Linked DNA regions of Homo sapiens: regions 2, 3 and 4 are each linked to region 1. The links are contacts of gene promoters, found by promoter capture Hi-C in human tissues and cell types (Jung and others, 2019). All regions are on one chromosome and are shown on one strand. The core of a region is centred on a gene start or on the middle of the fragment in contact, and the rest is flanking DNA. Distances in the headings are between cores, read along the strand shown.

Evidence for each region. Contacts are between HindIII fragments. The study calls those that stand out against the background at their distance.
Region 2: a contact is called between the fragment with the promoter of ZNF410 here and the fragment with the promoter of YLPM1 in region 1, in 2 of the 25 tissues and cell types used here (bladder and mesenchymal stem cells).
Region 3: a contact is called between a fragment that was not itself captured here and the fragment with the promoter of YLPM1 in region 1, in 1 of the 25 tissues and cell types used here (spleen).
Region 4: a contact is called between a fragment that was not itself captured here and the fragment with the promoter of YLPM1 in region 1, in 1 of the 25 tissues and cell types used here (lymphoblastoid cells).

Annotation. Positions count from the first base shown.
Region 1 is chr14:74,761,909-74,764,644 of GRCh38, forward strand. It overlaps YLPM1 (YLP motif containing 1), which reads left to right and starts at 1,408. Exons shown (of 21, transcript NM_019589.3): 1 at 1,408-2,454. The coding sequence starts at 1,582. RefSeq lists an enhancer at 1,116-1,455. The HindIII fragment of the contact is 19,465 bases long and covers 1-2,736 here.
Region 2 is chr14:73,885,467-73,888,202 of GRCh38, forward strand. ZNF410 (zinc finger protein 410) reads left to right here and starts at 1,393. Exons shown (of 12, transcript NM_021188.3): 1 at 1,393-1,449. PTGR2 (prostaglandin reductase 2) reads left to right here. Exons shown (of 10, transcript NM_001146154.2): 10 at 1-260. RefSeq lists a silencer at 1,053-1,332 and an enhancer at 1,383-1,452. The HindIII fragment of the contact is 8,605 bases long and covers 1-2,736 here.
Region 3 is chr14:74,002,850-74,005,585 of GRCh38, forward strand. The region is part of intron 3 of ENTPD5 (ectonucleoside triphosphate diphosphohydrolase 5 (inactive)); the gene reads right to left. It also overlaps the pseudogene RPL41P4. Among named protein-coding and RNA genes, the nearest start is that of ENTPD5, 15 kb to the right of the region's middle. The HindIII fragment of the contact is 8,142 bases long and covers 1-2,736 here.
Region 4 is chr14:75,435,080-75,437,815 of GRCh38, forward strand. All of the region lies in intron 1 of JDP2 (Jun dimerization protein 2), which reads left to right. Among named protein-coding and RNA genes, the nearest start is that of JDP2, 8.4 kb to the left of the region's middle. RefSeq lists an enhancer at 2,364-2,736. The HindIII fragment of the contact is 5,565 bases long and covers 1-2,736 here.

The DNA of each region.
Region 1 (2,736 bases), core at 158-2,657:
TAGCTGAGATTACAGGTGAGCACCACCACGCCTGGATACTTTTTGTATTTTTAGTAGGCATGGGGTTTCACCATGTTGACCAGGCTGGTCTTGATCTCCTGACCTGGTGATCTGCCTGCCTCAGCCTCCCAAAAGTGTTGGGATTACAGGAGTGAGCCCCCGCGCCCTGCCTCTGCGTTTCTTTTCTGTCTATGAAATTATCCCGATTGTTCTGCTCATTGGAACACTGTTTCTGCTTTATAGAATGAGACGTTGCCCAATTCTAGAATAGCAGGTAAAAGTTAATTAAGATCTTTAAACTAAATTTGTTGTAATTTTGTCTTTTGACATGTAATTTTCTGTATATTCGTTATACTTCAATAAAAAGTTAAAAGAAACATAACTAAATTTCTATTTGAAAACAGAAGCTCTTCCTTTTGAAGGATGCCTTGCTGCTCCACTTTCCATTCACATTCACCTCCTGAGAGAGGTGAAGATCTGGGTTGCTAAGATGGAAGAAAGGTCAATTATTTGCATGTTACTCAAGTGATGCACTGACACAATATTCTCACAGTTCTCCCTCCCCCCGCCCCCCCCCACACACCCAAAAGAATTCAGTGTATTAGCTTTGCTTTTTAGTGATTCACTCAAGCTAAAGTAAGAGTTTATGTCTGGTATTACGTTGAGAGCTTTTGGAAGATTATCTTCCAGGTTGTCTTTAGACCATCTTTGTATCTGGTTTTTGCTCTCTTTGCTTTTGCTCTGAGATTCTGCAACACCGATTTATATGTGTTGAGACAGTCTAAAAAATTCCATTTCTCCCCTTCTACAATTCCTGCAGATGTTACTCACTATATGTCTGCAGGAATTGGTGTAATCTTACACTCTGCCTTGAAAACACCTTTCCATTCTTCACAGCTTTGTTCCCAGTTGAATTTCTGGGGAGAATTGAGTTAGGTCTATTCATTTAATTTGGGAGAAACTGACATCTTTACAATTTTTCCTCTTTTCACCCAGGATCATGGTAAGCCTCTCCATTATTTGAAGTCTAATTTCATCCTACTTGGATATGCTTCTTTATGACTCTGTAGCTTTCTACATATAAGTCCTACATCTTTCTTGTTAGAGTTTTTCCTAGTTGCTTTATGTTTTTTTGTTGTTGTTGCGATTGTTGCTATTGTGAATGGAACCTTTTTTTTTTTTCATTCAAAAATGAACCCGTGGAGCGATAGGATCTCTACCACCTCTTTCGGCTGTGAGACTCTATGGTTTTTCAGTTCTATGAGAACATTCTACTGGAGCCTACATTATCTGAACCCAAAGGAAGATGGCAACCACGAGTCGCCAAGTAAAGGACCGCTCTATCTCGCCTTTGTTCTCCTCTCGGTGGTTACTGCGCAGACGTAGTCGCCCAAGTCGCGTCCCCGCCTTCCCGGTCGCGGGCCCAGCTCGGGAGCGCCGGCGCACTGGCGCGCTCCGTTTACACGCTCCGGGGCCTGTAGGCGCCGCGAGTTCCGGCTGTCGCCGTCGCCGCCGCGGCTCCTGGAGGTCGGTTGCGACGAGTAACGGCGCCAGGACGAGCCCTGCGCCTTCTTTTTCGATATGTACCCGAATTGGGGCCGGTATGGCGGGAGCAGCCACTATCCGCCGCCACCGGTCCCACCGCCGCCGCCAGTGGCGCTTCCTGAGGCCTCGCCGGGGCCCGGGTACTCGAGCTCGACGACTCCCGCGGCCCCCTCCTCCTCGGGCTTCATGAGCTTCCGCGAACAGCACTTGGCGCAGCTCCAGCAGCTGCAGCAGATGCACCAGAAGCAAATGCAGTGCGTGCTTCAGCCCCACCACCTTCCTCCGCCCCCTCTGCCGCCCCCGCCAGTGATGCCGGGGGGCGGCTACGGAGACTGGCAGCCGCCACCGCCACCGATGCCCCCGCCACCCGGGCCGGCCCTCAGCTATCAGAAGCAGCAGCAGTACAAACACCAGATGCTCCACCACCAACGAGACGGGCCTCCTGGTTTGGTTCCAATGGAGCTGGAATCCCCCCCTGAATCTCCCCCTGTGCCGCCTGGGTCCTATATGCCCCCATCTCAGTCTTACATGCCCCCACCTCAGCCGCCACCCTCTTACTACCCCCCGACCTCATCTCAGCCCTACCTGCCTCCTGCTCAGCCGTCCCCTTCGCAGTCCCCACCTTCCCAATCCTACCTGGCGCCCACCCCTTCTTACTCATCCTCCTCCTCTTCCTCGCAATCCTATTTGAGCCATTCCCAGTCCTACTTGCCCTCTTCTCAGGCATCTCCTTCCCGCCCCTCCCAGGGCCATTCTAAATCCCAACTACTAGCTCCACCACCACCGTCCGCCCCCCCTGGAAATAAGACAACTGTCCAGCAAGAGCCTTTGGAGAGTGGGGCCAAAAACAAGAGTACTGAACAGCAGCAAGCCGCCCCTGAGCCAGATCCCTCTACGATGACTCCACAGGTAAGAAAGCATCTGCCTGAACCTCATCTTTCACCTAGAGGGCCCTGAATGAGCAGGCCTCAGGGCTTTAACCAGTGGTTAGTCTAATTCCAACACACAATGACTAGCTAACACTCCAAAGGATTCCGTAAGAGTCAGAGGGCTGACAGCTCAGCTTTTTAATTAGCTAGATGTGAATTACCAAAAAAACAGCGTTTGTAGATGTGTATGGATTACATACAGTGGTGGGGTGGCTCAAAAGTTACCTCTCAGATACATTCCTTGGTTTCTTTGACCATCCTC
Region 2 (2,736 bases), core at 143-2,642, 880 kb before region 1:
GTTTTGGCTTATGATTGTCTACACACTGCCAATATACTTTTGTATGCAACATTTGTAATAAGTAGATTCAAACTGTGTTGGTAATCAGCCTCCCCAGTTTTCGTGAGTGGCCCTTTTTTGTTACTTTTCCTGGACCATTTCATCGCCTGAGGGGGTTTCACTTTTCTCTGTATGTTGCTAACTCCCAAATCTCCATCTGTATTTCTGACCTCTTTCTTGAGCACTGGACCTTTACCTCCAAGTAAATATCCTCAACTCTGGATTGCATCTTATACTCTGCTTTTTTCTTTTCTTTTCTTTTTTGAGATGGAGTCTTGCTCAGTCGCCCGGCGTGCAGCGGCACGATCTCGGCTCACTGCAACCTCCGCCTCCCGGGTTCAAGCGATTCTCCTGCCTCAGCCTCCCGAGTAGCTAGGATTACAGGCGCGTGCCACCACGCCCGGCTAATTTTTGTGTTTTTAGTAGAGACGGGTTTTCACGGCGTTACCCAGGATGGTCTCGATCTCCTGACCTCGTGATCCGCCCACCTTAGCCTCCCAAAGTGCTGGGATTAAAGGCGTGAGCCACGGAGTCCGGCCTACTCTGCTTTTCTAAAGTGGAATTATCTTCCTCTGAAATGTTTCTCCTTTATTTTAAATCACCATTAGTAATTTGTGTACCCAAACCTGTCATCAAGGCTTATCTTTAACCTTGAAAATGCCTTTTTAAAGAGAACTCCTTTAATTCCCACGGTTGAGTCTCTCATTCTTCCGCACGCAAATATTTTAAAATAAGTAATTTCAAGAAGTCAGTCAAACTCACAAAGCTTTAACAAGGTGGCATCCAGCTTGGAAGTCAAGTGTTCAAGCCCGCAGTCGGGACATCCAAGAGCTCTTTACATCCTAATTACAACACGGAACCCAGACTCACTGCATACCCCGTCCCGTATATAATGCAAAACTTGATTCTGCAAGTTCCTTTCTCGGGCGGTGAAACTTCGAAGGTCCTCTCCATGGAGACCTTTGATAAATGTTTAAGCAGTGATCTTTTCTTTCGCGTTTGCCTCCATTGCAACGCCTCCGCTGATGGGAAAAACTACTCCCTCCGCTACTGCGGGGTGGCAGTGACGTCAACGAATTAGCTGACCTGTTTTTTCGGGCTTCGCGGACATAGGAGTCCCGAAGGCCGAGAGTGAGTGAGTGAGTGGGAGCGGGGCGGCTGCGGCTCCTCCTGTCCGGGGCGGAGCCCTGCGTCGCGGGCCTGGGGAGGCCCCGCCAGCACCCTTGACGTCTGGGTCCCGAGCAGTGCGGCAGCCACACGACACTGAGGCGAGCGAGTGGGTGTGTGCGTGGGGGGTCAGCCAAACTTCCTGTCCCGCGCTCGAGCTGCTTCCGGCGGGAGCCGGAAGACGCTGTGTGTGGACGGAATTCGGGACCGACTGACGGCCGGCCGGCTTCCCGGAACTGGAAGGTGAGCTCCGAGGTGGGCCTGGCCACCCCTCCTCGGTTAGGTAGTACCCGAGAGGGCGGGGGCCAGTACCGGCTACTTGGGGCCTGGGGCCGAGTTCGCCCCGAGAGAGGAAACCGCCCTCCTTGGGCATCCCTCCTGGATCTGGCGGGCCCGGGAGCGGCCAGTCTGAAGCCCTGCGGCTTTGGCCCTTCCCCTCGCGGGTTTTTAGGGGCGATGTTCTTGCTCCTTTGCTTGGTTTTGGGGGTAGGGATATAGGAACAGACTGTCCTGAGAAAGCCAGAGTCAGCGAGTCCCCGGGGCGGGGGCTCTTGGACTGCACCCGCAGCCGGGGCCTGCCTACGGACCTTGGGGCCTTATTTCTGAGGCCTTTGTGGTGTGGGGTAGAGGATGCCAGGAGGCCTTGCCCTGAATGTTTCAGTCCAGAGCTACCCTCTCCTTTCATACCACTTACTTTCTGGGTTTGGAAAAGGGACAGCTGCCTACTCGGCTGGGCTGGGTCGCCCGTTTCTCCTTTGCCTGTCAGTTCGGGGGGCAGGAGTGTGTGGATTGTTTACGGCCTTCATACATTTCGTGTCGAATTTATTTTCTGAAGTTTCTCAAGATAATCCAATTTATTAAAGTTTATCCCACTTGATCATGAGGCTCAGAAATGCATTTAGGCACCATTTGGAAGTTAAATATTATTAACTTGGGACTTAAGAATTAGTACTTAGGTTGGAACGAAGGTCAACGCAGCATATTTGCAATAAATAAAAAACATTTGGAAATAAAGTCGGGCATTTTGTTAGGGAGTGAGAAATTGCACTTGGTTTTTTCTTAGTGTGGTGCAGAGTAAAAGACAACTAAAGTAGCAGTCAGAAGTTTTAAGTTCTAGTTTTTTACGTTTTGCATCTAAGTAGATGTCTAATTTTTGGCAAGTTGCTGAATCTCTAGCTCTGGGGAGTTTTTCTGTAAACGAAGGGGTTTACCTTTAGGGCTATGACAATTTTTCCGAGGCACTGAACTTTGAGTAGAAGTGACATAAGCATTTCTTTGTTTTGGAAAGATAACTTGAATGGCTGCATAAAGGATGTATTGGAAAGAGGAATTTTAAACGCGGGGTGACCAGTTAGAGGCCTGTTTTAATAGTATAGTAGAAAGTTACTGAGAGACCTAAACAGGGCATTACAGTAGGGAACAGAGAACATTCTGGGAACAGAGAATCACGGGAATTATTTAAAAATGGAGAATGAGAGAGATTTAAAGACCTAGAATTTGCAGCTGAGTGGGAGGAAGATTGGGCGATCA
Region 3 (2,736 bases), core at 126-2,625, 760 kb before region 1:
TGAAAATAGCCTTCTGCTTCCATCCCCACTACATCTCTGACCCCATCTACTAATAGTTTTCACCTTACTCTCCCCCAACACTGACCTCTGCGCTTATTCACTCATGCCCCTGCCTTAGGGCCTTCGCTCTAAGCTGTCCCCACTGCCTAGAAATTCTTTTCCTATATATCCACTTGATGAATTCCTGCAACTCCTTCAAATACTTGTTTAAAAATCACTTTCTTATTGAGATCTACTTAATACTATAACCTCTCACCTTCACATGCTCCCACCTCTACCTGCTTTCTCAACTCCCCTTACTCTGATCCACTTTTCTTTTTTCCACACCACTTATCACATTCTAACATACTGGAAAGCTTACTGATATTTATTGTCTGTGTTCCTCTGATAGAATATAAGCTCCTCAAGAGCAGAAATCTTTTTGTTTACTGGTGTAACCCAAGAACCTAGAAGAGCGTCCAAGGTGGAATTCAATAAAAACTGACAATAGAAATGGGCTAGGGTTTCTCTCAGCCTTAGCGCCATTTTCTTGGAAACCTCTGCATCATGAGAGCTAAGTGGAGGAAAAAGCGAATGTGCAGTCTGAAGCACAAAAGAAGAAAGATGAGGCAGAGGTCCAAGTAAACCGCTAGCTTGTTGCACCGTGGAGGCCACACAGGAGCAGAAACATGGAATGCCAGATGCTGGGGATGCTGGTACAAGTTGTGGGACTGCATGCTATTGTGTAGAGCTTGTCTCAATGGATCCAGAACTTCACCGCCCTCTGATCGCTGATCACCTCTGAGACCCACCTTGCTCATAACCAAAACTGCCCATGTTGGTCCTCTGCCCTGGACCTGGGACATTCTGGACTATTTCTGTGTTTACTTGTGGCCGAGTATAACAACCATACGATAAATCATCTCTTCTGCTGTCTTAGCTGAAGAATCAAAAAAAAAGAAAAAGAAAAAAAGAAAAAAAAAATTGGCTGGGCATGGTGCCTCATGCCTGTAAATCCCAACACTTGGGAGGCTAAGGCAGGAGGATCACTGGAGCCCAGGAGTTTGAGACCAGCCTGGGCAACACAGCAAAACCCTATTAAAAAAAATTTTTTTTTAATGAAAAAATTAGCCAGGCATGGCAGTGCACACTTGCAGTCCCAGCTACTTGGGAGGCTGAGGCAGAAGGATCACTTAAGCCCAGGAGTTCGAAGCTGCAGTGAGCTAGAATCATGCCACTGCACTCCAGCATGGGTGACAGAGCAAGACCCTGTCTCAAAAAATAAATTAATTAAGTAAATAAATACATGTATTAAGCAATAAAAATATTTATTATCTCATCCCTTTTTTATTTTTTTGAGACAGAGTCTCCCTCTATTGCCCAGGTTGCAGTGCAGTGGCGTGATCTTGGCTCACTGCAACCTCTGCCTCCTGGGTTCAAGTGATTCTCCTGTCACAGCCTCCGAAGTAGCTGGGACTACAGGCACCCCCCACCACACCCGGCTAATTTTTGTATTTCTAGTAGAGACGGGGTTTCGCCATATTGGCCAGGCTCAAACTCCTGACCTCAGGTGATCCACCTGCGTTGGCCTCCCAAAGTGCTGAGATTACAGGTGTGAGCCATTGCGCCCGGCCTATCTCATTATTTCTGTGGTTTGGGACTCTGAGAGTGGTTTAATTAGACAGTTTTGGCTCTGAGGCTCTCATGAGATTGCAGTCAAGATGTAGGCTGGGGCTGCAGTCAATCTGAAGGCTTGACTAGGCCTGGAAGACCCACCTCCAAGATGGCTCACTCAATGGTTGGCAAGTTGATGCCAGCTGTGGGCAGGAAGTCTCAGTAGCTCCCCGTGTAGATCCTCCATAGGGCTGCTTGAATGTCTTTATAACCCAGTGGCTGGCTTCCTCCAGAGCAGTCAATCCAAGAAGAGCAGGGCAGAAGCAGTAATGTCTTTTATGACTTTGTTTTGGAAGTCATACACTATCATATCCCTATATTCTAATGCTCATACAGACCAACCCTGACGAACTGTAAAAGGGGACTACACAAAGGCATGAATATTAGGAGGTGAGCATCACTGGGGGGCATCTTGGAGGCTGGCTACTGTAAGCTGTAACCAGTATTTGTGTAATATTTTGTGGGGTTTTTTTTCCAGTATACCATATATATATTTCAATAAACACATCTTACATACTTCTTATTTTAGGACCTGCATGTTATTCCAATGATATTAACTGTTTTTGTTCATTTGTTTATTCTTAGAAAAAAATAATATATAGAAATAAGCCAGGTTAGCTGGGCATGATGGGACATGCCTGTAATCCCAGCTACTCGGGAGGCTGAGGCAGGAGAATTGCTTGAACCCGGGAGATGGAGGTTGCAGTGAGCTGAGATCGCACCATTGCACTCCAGCCTGGGCGATAGGGTGAGACTCAGTCTCAAAAAAAAAAAAAAAAGAAAAAAAGAAAAAAAGAAAAAAAGAAATAAACCAGGCGTGGTGGCTCATGCCTGCCTGGGTGAGAGAGCAAGACTCGGTCTCAAAAAAAAAGAAAAGAAATATAGGCAGGGTTTCACTATGTTTGTCAGATTGCTCTCAAACTCCTGGCCTCAAGCAATCCTCCACCTTGGCCTCTCAACATGCTAGGATTACAGGTGTGAGCCATCACATCGGCTGCTATTAACTCTTAAAAATGAACAACTGGCCAGGTGCGGTGGCTCACGCCTGTAATCCCAGCACTTCGGGAGGCTGAGGGGAGTGGA
Region 4 (2,736 bases), core at 127-2,626, 670 kb after region 1:
CACAGTTTTGCTACAAGGAATAGGTCTTCCTGCTGGCCCCTTCCCTGTTCTCCTTAGAGGAGGCCAGGGGAGACGTGCAGCTCATCTACAGGGCCCTGGAGCGGCCTCCTAGCGTGGCAGGCTGCAGCCCTCTCTGCATTGCAGGTTCCATTCCAGAGGGCTGAGAGGGAGCTCTCTTACTGCCACTAGGCTCCAGTCCAGCTCAGAGTTTGGGGGATCAGAGAACATTGAACACCCACATGCGAGAGGTCTCAGGGGCTATTTCTGTGTCTGGGCTCCCATGCAGGCTACCGTGGAGTTATTCAGGGAACTTCCTAAACCTGGATCTCCATGGGGGGTGGAGGGTCCTCTGTGCAAGACAATGACCCTCTACTGTGGGCTGGTGTCTGAAAGCCCACCGTGAGAAAGTCATTCCTTCTGCTGAAGGCGTCGTTACCTATTGGACCCCAGAAAGGGAAACAAAGAAGGAAGGGTGAGAAAGCTTTGGTCTAGAACCCTGGGACCAGGAGTCGAGCCCTGGCTCCAATCCTCTCCAGCTGTGTGACCTTGGGGAGGCCATTTAGCCTCTCTGAGCTTTAGTTTCCTCCTGTCAAAATGAGGATGTGGTTTAGATGAGCACAGGGCCTCCTTCAGCTCTAAAACTGTAACTCAATGTGATTGAGCCTCAGATCTTTTTCTGATGGCCCAGGGGACACGGGGTGAAGGAAGGAGAGAAAGGATGTGAGTGGGAAGGAGTGCTAAGAGGACCGGGTATGGGAGGCACAGTAGGTAGAGCACAGTTAGAGGAGCCTGAGGACACCAAATAAAAACTCTGGGGCAAGCCAGGGAGCTATGGGCAGAGGCTTTATGACAGATGCAGCAGGCATGCTGAGGATGAAATGGCGGGTCCACTTCCCATTCCCAGGCACCTCGCTTTAGACACCTTGCTTTAGACAAAGTGATGGCCAGTGGAAACCTTTGTGCTTGAGGGTGCAAGTTACTCACATGCTTTTTCTCTTAGAGAAATAGAACTTATTGGGAAATAGACTCTGGACTTGGACAGGGAACCAAATTTCACCTTCAAAAGTGAAATGTAGATGGAGAATATGGCTTGCACTCTTGGCCAAAACAGGTTCACAAATGCCCCTCTCTGGAATGATCTAGACCTGGGAAGCTGAATGGGGGCAGGTGGTTGTGGGTCACCCTCCAAGGCCACTCCTGCAGGAGACAGAGAGCCCAAGAACCATGTGGCCATCTGAGTACATTAACTGCCCAACGGAGAAGTATTGTCCGATGGACATCAGATCTTCCCTCTTCTGCCAAATACATCTCTCTCCATGGGAAGAGACAGGTAAAGATGGAAGGATAGGCCAAAGATTTTCCCTCAGGAGTGCTAAGCCAGCGAATATTTTGATTTTATGGCCCTGGGCAGAAAGGTGAAAAGAGGGAGAAATGATTTCCTTTCCAGGACTAGAATCTAAGAGCAGTTTTGTACTAACATGCTACTTAAAAGGCTGCTTCAAAGCTAAGACTGCACATCTGACCTCCATATTCCTAGTGCCTGCTGGCCTATAGTAGGTGGTCAGTAACTGGATGGATGGGTAGGTAGGAGGAGCCCTTTAAGGGACTGGCTTTATTGGCAGACCAGCTTTCTTCACTGCCATCTGTGCCTTGAAATGACCATTTCTTACCCATGAGCTTCCCCCAGTAAAGGGAAGGAAGAATTCCCTTGGTGTTGACCTGTCTAATTTACATCCTTCTTCCATGTCTGAATCTGTCTTCCCTTGTACACCTTTTTGGTTGGGCAGAGCTGGAATATGTGTTTGCTCTGAGAATGAAGAGAACATGGAGGTAGCCGGGCGCAGTGGCTCACGCCTATAATCCCAGCACTTTGGGAGGCCAAGGTGGGCAGATCATTTGAAGCCAGGAGTTCAACACCAGCCTGGCTAACATGATGAACTCCTGTATCTACTAAAAATACAAAAATTAGCTGGGCGTGGTGGCAGGTGCCTGTAATTCCAGCTACTCGTGAGGCTGAGACAGGAGAATTGCTTGAACCCAGGAGGCGGAGGTTGCAGTGAGCTGAGATCGTGCCACTGCACTCCAGCCTGGGCAAAAAAAAAAAAAAAAAAAAGCATGGAGGAGTTTTCTGGTACTGGGTTCCACAGGGAAAGCACATGCTAATTAATTCCACCTGCTTTGCCTCAGTCCCTTCCTCATAGATAGCACACACACTCACCTTTAACTTAGATTTGCTTCATCTCCTACTCAGGGTGTCTTAACAAATATGCAGAATAGGATGTGTGATTGGAGGGGAGGCACCATGCCAGACCAAAAATAGCTTCCTCTGAAACAGGTGTGAAGGTGCTTGAGGTTCTGCCGTTATAATTCGCTCTCTTCAGAGACTGTATGCTGCCATTGAAATCCCAGCTCCACCAATTTTAACTGTGTACAACCTTAAGCGAATTATCATTCTAAGCTTGGCTACTTCCTCTGTGTAATGACCTCTGATCCAGCCTAATGGGACTGCAGGATTACCATGGGGCCTGGCACATACCAAAGGCTGAATACATGTTGCCTATGATTGGGTCAAGCATTGCCTTCAAAATAAAAAAGGCAGACACTTCTGGCAGTGCCAAGGGTGACCTTGGTGTGAGTTAATTGAGCAACTTTTCCTCTATAACAGGAAGGACTTTACGGCAGGAAGAGCAGCTGGGTGGGAAAGGGATTCAGGGGAACATTGGTGAAAGAAGCCAC